Linked DNA regions of Homo sapiens: region 2 is linked to region 1. The links are contacts of gene promoters, found by promoter capture Hi-C in human tissues and cell types (Jung and others, 2019). All regions are on one chromosome and are shown on one strand. The core of a region is centred on a gene start or on the middle of the fragment in contact, and the rest is flanking DNA. Distances in the headings are between cores, read along the strand shown.

Region 1 (5,159 bases), core at 1,800-4,299:
GGTAGGAGAATCGCTTGAACCTGAGAGGCAGAGGTTGCAGTGAGCCAAGACCGTGCCACTGCACTCCAGCCTGGGCGACAGAGGGGGACCCTGTCAAAACAAAACAACAAACTGGAAAAAATGGCATTTGAGACAAACTTTGAAAGAGTATGAATACTGTTTTAAGACTTTGTTGTTCTTACATCAGTTCAATAAAGAAAAATCAGAAAACAGATAAAAAGAGTAAATTTATGTGACACACAATGTAGATATAACCACTTTTAATTTTTTTAAGCTATATACAGGTTGAGGCTGGATGTGGTGGCTCACGCCTGTAATCCCAGCACTTTGGGAGGCCAAGGCCAGTGGATCACCTGAGGTCAGGAGTTCAAGACCAGCCTGACCAATATGGTGAAATCCTGTCTCGACTAAAAATACAAAAATTAGCCCGGTGTGGTGGTGGGAGCCTGTAATCCCAGCTACTAAGGAGGCTGAGGCACGAGAATCACTTGAACCCAGGAGGCAGAGCTTGCAGTGAGCCGAGATCGCACCACTGCACTCCAGCCTGGGTGAAAGGGCGAGACTCAGTGTCAAAAAAAAAAAAAAAAAAAAAAAAAAAAAAAATATATATATATATATATATATATATATATATATATATATATATATATATTTATAACAGGTTGAGTATCCCTAATTCAAAAATCTGGGCCAGGCGCGTTAGCTCACGCCTGTCATCCCAATCCTTGGGGAGGCCGAGTTGGGTGGATCACTTGAGGCCAGGAGTTCAGACCAGCTTGGCCAACATGGTGAAACCCCTTCTTTACTAAAAATACAAAAAAATTAGCCAGGGCGGTGGCAGGCGCCTGTAGTCCCAGGTACTTGGGAGGCTGAGGCAGGAGAGTGGAGTGAACCCAGGAGGCGGAGCTTGGGAGCTTGCAGTGAGCCGAGATTGTGCCACTGCACTCCAGCCTGGGCGACAGAGCGAGACTCCGTCTCAAAAAAAAAAAAAGAAAAAGAAAAAATACAAAAATTAGCCGGGCGTGGTGGCGCACGCCTGTAATCCCAGCTACTCAGGAGGCTGAGGCAGGAGAATCGCTTGAACCTGGGAGGTGTAGGGTGCAGTGAGCCGAGATCGCACCACTGCACTCCGGCCTGGGCGACAGAGCAAGACTCTGCCTCAAGAGAAAAAAAAAAAAAAACCTAAATGTTCCAAAACTCAAAACGCTCCAAAATCTAACTTTTTAAGCACTGACATGACTCTCAAAGGAAATGCTCATTGGAGTATTTCAGATTTTGGATTTTCAGATTAGGATGCTAAAGTGGTAAGTATATATACGTAAAACACTTTCATATTCTGCTTTTCTTCATTTAATACGGTGGTTGCCTTTCTGTCAGTCATCGTACATTAGCATCAGTTTGCTGTGTGATATTCCATTGCAGAGATAAATCTTGTGATATTTTTAACCAGTCCTCCATTGCTGGATGGTGCAATGAACATCTGTTAATACATATCTTTTGCTCATGTGTCTGATTATTTTAAGGGTAAGATTTCAGCCTGTGGAAAGGGAGTAAGTGTAAGTTTGAGCAGAGGAAAGGAGACCTAAAAGAATAAGGCGAGTCTGGGAACAGTTCACTAGGTTATTTTAGGGCATTGGACCCCCGTAGGCGAGAAATGCTTGCAGACATCTAACGATGACGCTTAAATGGAAGAGCAGTTTGAGAAGATTTAGTATCATTTAATTTTTTATTTTTTATTTTTTTTGAGACGGAGTCTCGCTCTGTAGTCCAGGCTGGAATCTCGGCTCACTGCAACCTCCGCCTCGCGGGTTCAAGCGATTCTCCTGCTTAAGCTTCCCGAGTAACTGGGACTACAGGCGCAAACCACCACGCCCGGCTACTTTTTTTGTATTTTTGGTAGAGACGAGATTTCACCAAGTTGGCCAGGTTGGTCCTGAATTCCTGACTTTATTTATTTATTTTCTGAGACGGAGTCTCGCTCTGCCGCCCAGGCTGGAGTGCAGTGGCGCGATCTCGGCTCACTGCAAGCTCCGCCTCCCAGGTTCACGCCAGTCTCCTGCCTCAGCATCCGGAGTAGCTGGGACTACAGGCGCCCGCCACCACGCCCGGCTAATTTTTTTTTGTGTGTGTGTGTATTTTTAGTAGAGACGGGGTTTTACCGTATTAGCCAGGATGGTCTCATCTCCTGACCTTGTGATCCGCCCGCCTCAGCCTCCCAAAGTGCTGCGATTACAGGCGTGAGCCACCGCACCTGGCCTAGAACTCCTGACTTTAAATGATCCATCCGTTTTGGCCTCCCAAACTGCTGGGATTACAGGCGTGGGCCACCGCGCCCAGTCAATCTCATTTAATCTTAATGCCAGGTACTGTTCTAACACTTTTCTATGTATAATTTATTTCACTTGCAGGTACTATTATTATTCCCATCTATAGGCCAGAAAGCTGAGGTACGAAGTTTAATTACCAGAGTTACTTATCTTCGTTAAAATCCAAGCAGTCTGGGCTACAAACAATTATACCTACTTTGCAGTCAAGGAACCAAGCTGAGATGTTGAGCTGAAAACCCAGGTCTCAGACTTCAAAGCTTTCTACACAAGAGTCGACGGTGGCAGTAAAAATTAATGGGGGCTTGATCTATCCCTCCCACCCCCAAGAAAAGTAAAAAGCAGGAGCTGGGACCAGAGAAAACCTCCACGGAGTCCTTATCCCCTAAATATAAGAGGCATTTAACGTTTAGCATTGCTGACCTGCAATCAGGCTTCAACTGTGAGTAGCCAGGCTCTAAAGCTTGATAACTGAATTCCAAAAAGCGCGCGAGCCTCCAGGCGAAACAGCTTCCCGCCTTCCAGCCGGTTGGAGCCGGCTCAGCAACAGCCTCTCCAAGCCAGGGTAGTGACGTCAGCCCAGGAATTGGGCCCGCCCCGGGATCTCGCTGCTTTCTGCACGCTCGGAATAACCAGAGTCGCGAAATTAGCCCCGCCCACTGCCCCGGAAGTTAATGCGGAAGCCACACACCTCCTCCTCGGCCGGCAGGGGCGCAGCCATTTTAATTCATATTTGAGTGGGCGGTGGCGATTGGTGTTGGCGGTCTGGCTCAGCTGGGCAGGGGGTAACTTTACTGATTTGGGGGTGGTTTTTAGTTTAATTTTTCTTTTCTAGCTTCCCATCGACGGTCAGTGCGCACGTTGTAATCAGCTGAGGCCATGTCAGGAGACGGAGCCACGGAGCAGGTGAGGAAGGAGAGTGGTGGGGCCTCGTGGCGACCTCTTCTCCACGTCTGTTCCTCCGACTGCTCCAGACATGTTCGGCTGAGGAAGGAATTGGGTCTAGTGAACCCGGGGGACAGGGTATATAGAAGAGTGGTGGGAATGGGGAGCAAGATCTAAGATTTAATTTTTTTTTTTTTACTTCTCTCTCTTAGGCATGAATACGAGTAAATACTTGATTTAGACAATAGCGGTAGGCTGCTTCGTCCTATTTAGATTCATGGGACTACTCCAGATGGGATGCTTTCCTTTGATATCGTTTTGGTATTAGAGTGGATAGGAATTATTTTAACGTGCACCCGACGTTTTAGAAAAACTTGACAGTGTTTCTTTTACCCCGCCAAATATACTGTACCCAGAAATAGGTTACTAGTTTGAGAAATATTTGAGACAAAGCTAATCTGGAGAATTAAGACTTAATGAGAGCGAGTGAAGAAAGAAGCAAGTTATGCTGAGGTTTTGGGAATTTTGTGGCTTTCTTTCGTTTTCTTTTCTTTTAGCCACATTTCGTTTTCATTTTTCCAGCTACATAAACATTGCAGGTATAAGTTGAAAATGAGAAGTCTGTTTTGGCCACTGTAAATAAAAGCATCTGTTTTAATAGTAAATATGAGTGACAACTAAATATTTTAAAATTCACACTTTTAGGTTAGATCAGTGTGATTTGTTTCTTTTGCTCTTTGTATTCAGAATTTTGTAGGATAGTATTTACCTTTTAGTGTGAAAGAGGAAGCTAAATAGTTATGAAAAATGCCATTAAATGTGTTTTTCGATCTAAGTCCTGGTGTGTTTAGATAAATACAGTTTCTAAAATGGAGGCTAGGTAGCCTGCAGTCTCAATTTCCTGAAATTTCCCATTGCCATAGCAACGACATGCACTTAGGTTTTCGTTTTTCAGGTTCCCTAGCTTATAACGTGGAAGATGTTATTGGAGGTTGGCAGAGATGAGGCAAAATAGGAGCGTTCTATTGCATAGTCTGTAAGACTGTAGATTTCATTATGTCGGCAGTTTGATTAAATTGTTTTGTGTTTGCCCGAGGACTGGTTTCAGTCCAGAAATCTTCGCACTATTTACATTTTACATAGTGTTAGCATGCCCAAGCATGCAAAGTCTTAAAATTACTGTATCAAAACTGTTTACCCCTTTTCTGATCTAGTATTTGTTATCTGAAAGTGAAGGACTAATGAACTGAGGTTTCATTGAAAGTTTTCGAAATTCATTGTTAATTCTTAGAATTTATCTAAAATTACAAAGACACGGAAATGTTACCATGACCTCTTGAATGTTTTAGAACTGTGGTGTTTCAGTGGGACAGATGGTGGTGAAAATTTATAGAAAAATAATTTCTCCCAAAGGTTTTATTGTGCAAAGTTTAGAACATAGAGAAAAGTTGAAAGAAAAGTGCAGTGAACACCTGTAGGACAACTCTTCGCCTGGAATCAACAGCTGAAAGCCTTGCCATATTTGCTTTATCTCCCCATGCTGATAGATTGAGAACAGAGTCTTTGTCACTCACACTAGAGTGCTGTGACGCCATCACAGCTCACCATAGCTTCGACCTCCCTGCGCTCTGTGATCCTGCCACCTCAGCCTCCTCCGTAGCTGGGAGTACAGGCGCGCGCCACCATGCCCAGCTAATTTTTTTTTTTTTTTTTTTTTTTTTTTTGAGATGGAGCCTTGCTCTGTCGCCCAGACTGGAGTGCAGTGGCGCGATTTCGCCTTACTGCAGCCTCCGCCTCCCGGTTCAAGCGATTCTCCTGCCTCAGCCACCCCAGTAGCTGGGATTACAGGCGCCCACCACCATGCCCCGCTAATTTTTGTATTTTAAGTAGAGACGGGGATTTTGCCACGTTGCCCAGGCTGGTCTCGAACTCCTGACCTCAAGTGATCCG
Region 2 (4,745 bases), core at 1,639-4,138, 520 kb before region 1:
GTTCGGTGCTGCTGGGGGAGTGCACAGTGGGAGTGAGACTGGCCTTTTGGGTTGCGTAGGAGCTGGGTGAGGCCTGTAACTGCTGGCTTTCCCCCACTTCCCTGACAACCTGCCTGACACAGCAGAGGGAGCCATAATCCTCCTGGGAGCATAACTCCATTGACATAGGAATCACACCTCCATCCCCCACAGTAGTGGCAGCAAGCCCCACCCAAGGAGAGTCTGAGCTCAGACATACCTAGCCTTGCCCTTACCTGATGGTCCTTTCCTACCCGCCCTGGTAGCAGAAGAGAAAGGGCATATTCTTTTAGGAGTTCTAGGGCCCTGCCCACTGCTTGATCCTCCCTCTACTACCACAGCTGATGCTGTCTTGAAAACGCCACTTCCTGGGAGGAGGCCAACCAGCACAAAACTAGTGCATTAAACCACCAAAGCTAAGAACCCTCACAGAGTCCATTTCACCCCCTCTGCCACCTCCACTGGAACAGGTGCTGGTATCCACAATGGAGAGACCTGAAGATGGTTCACATCACAGGATTCTGTGCAAACACCCCTCAGTACCAGCCCGGGGCCTGGTAGTCCTGCTGGGTGGTTAGATCCTGAAGGGAAATAATAATCACTACAGTTCAGCTCTCAGGAAGCCACATTTCTAGGAAAAGGGGGAGCGTACCACATCAAGGGAACACCCCATGGGACAAAAGAATCTGCATGGCAGCCTTGAGCCCCAGATCTTCCCTCTCACATAGCCTACCCAAATGAGAAGGAACCCGGAAAAAAAATACTGGTAACATGACAAAACAAGGTTCTTTAACACCCCCAAAAAGTCACACTAGCTCACCTGCAATGGATCCAAATGAAGAAGAAATCCCTGATTTACCTAAAAAAAGAATTTAGAAGGTTGATTATTAAACTAATCAAGGAGGCACCAGAGAAAGATGAAGTCCAATTTAAGGAAATAAAAAAATGATACAAGATATGAGGGAAGAAATCTTCAGTGAAATAGCATAAATAAAAAACAATCACAACTTCAGGAAATAAAGGACACACTTAGAGAAATGCAAAATGTACCGGAAAATCTCAGCAATAGAATCGAACAAGCAGCAGAAAGAACTTCAGACTCGAAGACAAGGTTTTTGATTTAACCCAATCCAACAAAGACAAAAGAATTTTTAAAAAATGAACAAAGCCTCCAAGAAGTTTGGGATTATGTTAAATGACCAAACCTAAGAATAATTGGCATTCCTAAGGAAGAAGAGAAATCTAAAAGTTTGGAAAACATATTTGGGGGAATAATTGAGGAAAACTTCCCCAGCCTTGCTAGAAACCTAGACATCCAAATACAAGAAGCTCAAAGAACACCTGGGAAATTTACTGCAAAAGATCATCACCTAGGCACACTGTCATCAGGTTATCTAAAGTCAAGATGAAGGAAAGAATCTTGAGAGCTGTGAGGCAAAAGCACCAGGTAACCTATAAAGGAAAACCTATCAGATTAACAGCAGATTTGTCAGCAGAAACCCTACAAGCTAGAAGGGATTGGGACCCTATCTTCAACCTCCGTAAATAGCCAAGAATTTGGTATCCAGTGAAACTAAGCTCCATAAATGAAGGAAAGATGATAGTCTTTTTCAGACAAACAAATGCTAAGAGAATTTGCCACTACCAAACCACCACTACAAGAACTACTAAAAGGAGCTCTAAATCTTGAAACAAATCCCAGAAACACATCAAAACAGAATCTCTTTAAAGCATAAATCTCACAGGACCTATAAAAATTTTTTTTAAAAACCCAAGGTATACAGGCAACAAATAGCATGATGAATGGAATAGTACCTCACATTTCAATACTAATGTTGAATGCAAATAGCCTAAATGCTCCACTTAGAAGATACAGAATTGCAGAATGGACAAGAATTCGCCAACCAAGTACCTGCTGCCTTCAAGAGACTCACCTGACACATAAAGACTCACATAAACTTAAGGTAGAGGTGGAAAAAGACATTCTACACAAATGGACACCAAAAGCGAGCAGAAGTAGCTATTCTTATATCAGACAAAACAAACTTTAAAGCAACAGCAGTTTAAAAAGACAAAGCAGGATATTATATAATGATAAAAGGCTTTGTCCAACAGGAAAATATCACAATCCTAAATATATACGCACCTAACACCAGAGCTCCCAAATTTATAAAACAATTACTACTGGACCTAAGAAATGAGATAGACAGCAACACAATAATACTAGGGGACTTCAATACTCCACTGACAGCACTAGACAGGTCTTCAAGACAGAACTTCAACAAAGAAACAATGGATTTAAACTATACCCTGGAACAAATGGACTTGACAAATATTTAAGAACATTCTACCCAACAACTGCAGAATATACATTCTATTCATCAGTGCATGGAATTTTCTCCAAGATAGACCATATGATAGGTCACAAAACAAGTCTCAATAAATTTAAGAAAACTGAAACTATATCAAGTACTGTCTCAGACCACAGTGCAATAAAATTGGAAATCAACTCCAAATGGAATCCTCAAAACCATATATACATGGAAATTAAATAACCTGCTCTTGAATGATCGTTGGGTCAACAATGAAATCAAGATGGAAATTAAAAAGTTCTTTGAACTGAACAATAATAGTGACACAACCTATCAAAACTTTTGAGACACAGCAAAAGTGATGCTAAGAGGAAACTTCATAGCATTAAACGCCTACATCAAAAAGTCTGAAAGAGCACAAATAGACAATCTAAGGTCACACCTCATGGAACTGGAGAAACAAGAACAATCCAAACCCCAACCCAGCAGAGGAAAAGAAATAACAAAGATCAGAGCAGAACTAAATGAAATTGAAGCAAGAGAAACAATACAAAAGATAAATGAAACAAAAAGCTGGTTCTTTGAAAAGATAAATAAAACTGATAGACCATTAGCAAGATTAACCAAAAAGAGAGAAGATCCAAATAAGCTCAATTAGAAACAAAATGGGAGATATTACAACCAACACCACAGAAATACAAAAGATCATTCAAGGCTACTATGAACACCTTTATGAACATAAACTATAAAACCTAGAGGAGATGCATAAATTCCTGGAAAGATACAATTCTCTTAGCTTAAATCAGGAAGAATTAGAAACCCTGAAGAGACCCAAAACAAACAGTGAAAATGAAATGGTAATTAAAAAAAATACCAACAGAAAAAGTCCAGGACCAGATGGATTCACAGCTGAAACCAGGCATTCAAAGAAGAATTGGTACCAATCCTATTGACACTATTCCATAAGATAGAGAAAGAGGGAATCCTCCCTAAATCATTCTATGAAGCTAGTATCACCCTAACACCAAAACTGGGAAAGGACATAACAAAAAAAGAAAATTACACACCAATATTCCTGTTGAACATAGATGCAAAAATCCCCACCAAAATACTAGCTAACCAAATTCAACAGCATATCAAAAAGGATAATACACCATTATCAAGTAGGTTTCATACTAGGGATGTAGGGATAGTTTAACATATGCAAGTCAATAAATATGACACACTACTTAAACAATTAACAACAAAAATCACATCACATGATCATCTCAATAGACACAGAAAAAGCATGTGACAAAATCCAGCATCACTTTTATGATTACAACTCTCAGCAAAATCGGCATACAAGGGACATACCTCAATGAAATAAAAGCCATCTATCACAACCCACAGCCAACATAATACTGAACTGGGAAAAGTTGAAAGCATTCCCTCTGAGAACTGGAACAAGACAAGGATGCCCACTCTCACCACTTCTATTCAACGTAGTATTGGAAGTCCTAGTCAGAGCAATCAGGCAAGAGAAAAAAAATAAAGGGCATTCAAATCACTAAAGAGGAAGTCAAACTGTTGCTGTTTGCTCATGGTATGACTGTATACCTAGAAAACCCTAAAGACTCCTCCAAAAAGCTCCTAGAACTGATTAATGAATTCAGCAAAGTTTCAGGATACAAAGTTAATGTACACAAGTCAGTAGCTCTGCTATACACCAACAGTGATCAAGCTAAGAATCAAATGAAGAACTCAACCTTTTTTTACAATAAGCTTTTCTTTTTTACAAATAAAATAAAATACTTAGGAATATATCTAACCAAGGAGGTGAAAGACCTCTGCAAGGACAACTACAAAACACTGCTGAAAGAAATCATAGACACAAACAAATGGAAAACACATGTCATGCTCATGGATGGGTAAAATTAACATTGTGAAAATAATCATATTGCCAAAAGCAATCTATAAATTCAATGCAATTCCCATCAAAATACCACCATCATTCTTCACAGAACTAGAAAAAACATTCCTAAAATTCACATGGAACTGAAAAGAGTCTACCTAGCCAAAGCAAGACTAAGCAAAAAGAACAAATCTGGAGGCATCACATTACCTGATTTCAAACTATATTATAAAGCCACAGTCACCAAAACAGCATGGTACTGGTATAAAAATAGGCACATAGACCAGTGGAACAGAACAGAGAACCAAGAAATAAATCCAAATACTTACAGCCAACTGATCTTCAACAAAGCAAACAAAAACATAAAGTGGGGAAAGGACACCCTATTCAACAAATGGTGCTGGGATAATTGGCAAGCCACATGTAGGAGAATGAAACTGGATCCTCATCTCTCACCTTGTACAAAAGTCAACTCCAGATGGATCAAGGACTTAAATCTAAGACCTAAAACTATACAAATT

What was found. Contacts are between HindIII fragments. The study calls those that stand out against the background at their distance.
Region 2: a contact is called between a fragment that was not itself captured here and the fragment with the promoter of CSTF3 in region 1, in 2 of the 25 tissues and cell types used here (adrenal gland and mesendoderm cells).

The regions. Positions count from the first base shown.
Region 1 is chr11:33,159,370-33,164,528 of GRCh38, reverse strand. CSTF3 (cleavage stimulation factor subunit 3) reads left to right here and starts at 3,049. Exons shown (of 21, transcript NM_001326.3): 1 at 3,049-3,230. The coding sequence starts at 3,204. CSTF3-DT (CSTF3 divergent transcript) reads right to left here and starts at 2,872. Exons shown (of 4, transcript NR_034027.1): 1 at 2,748-2,872. RefSeq lists enhancers at 2,665-3,084, 3,820-4,687. The HindIII fragment of the contact is 6,364 bases long and covers 1-5,159 here.
Region 2 is chr11:33,677,956-33,682,700 of GRCh38, reverse strand. No RefSeq gene overlaps it. Among named protein-coding and RNA genes, the nearest start is that of C11orf91, 20 kb to the left of the region's middle. The HindIII fragment of the contact is 9,272 bases long and covers 1-4,745 here.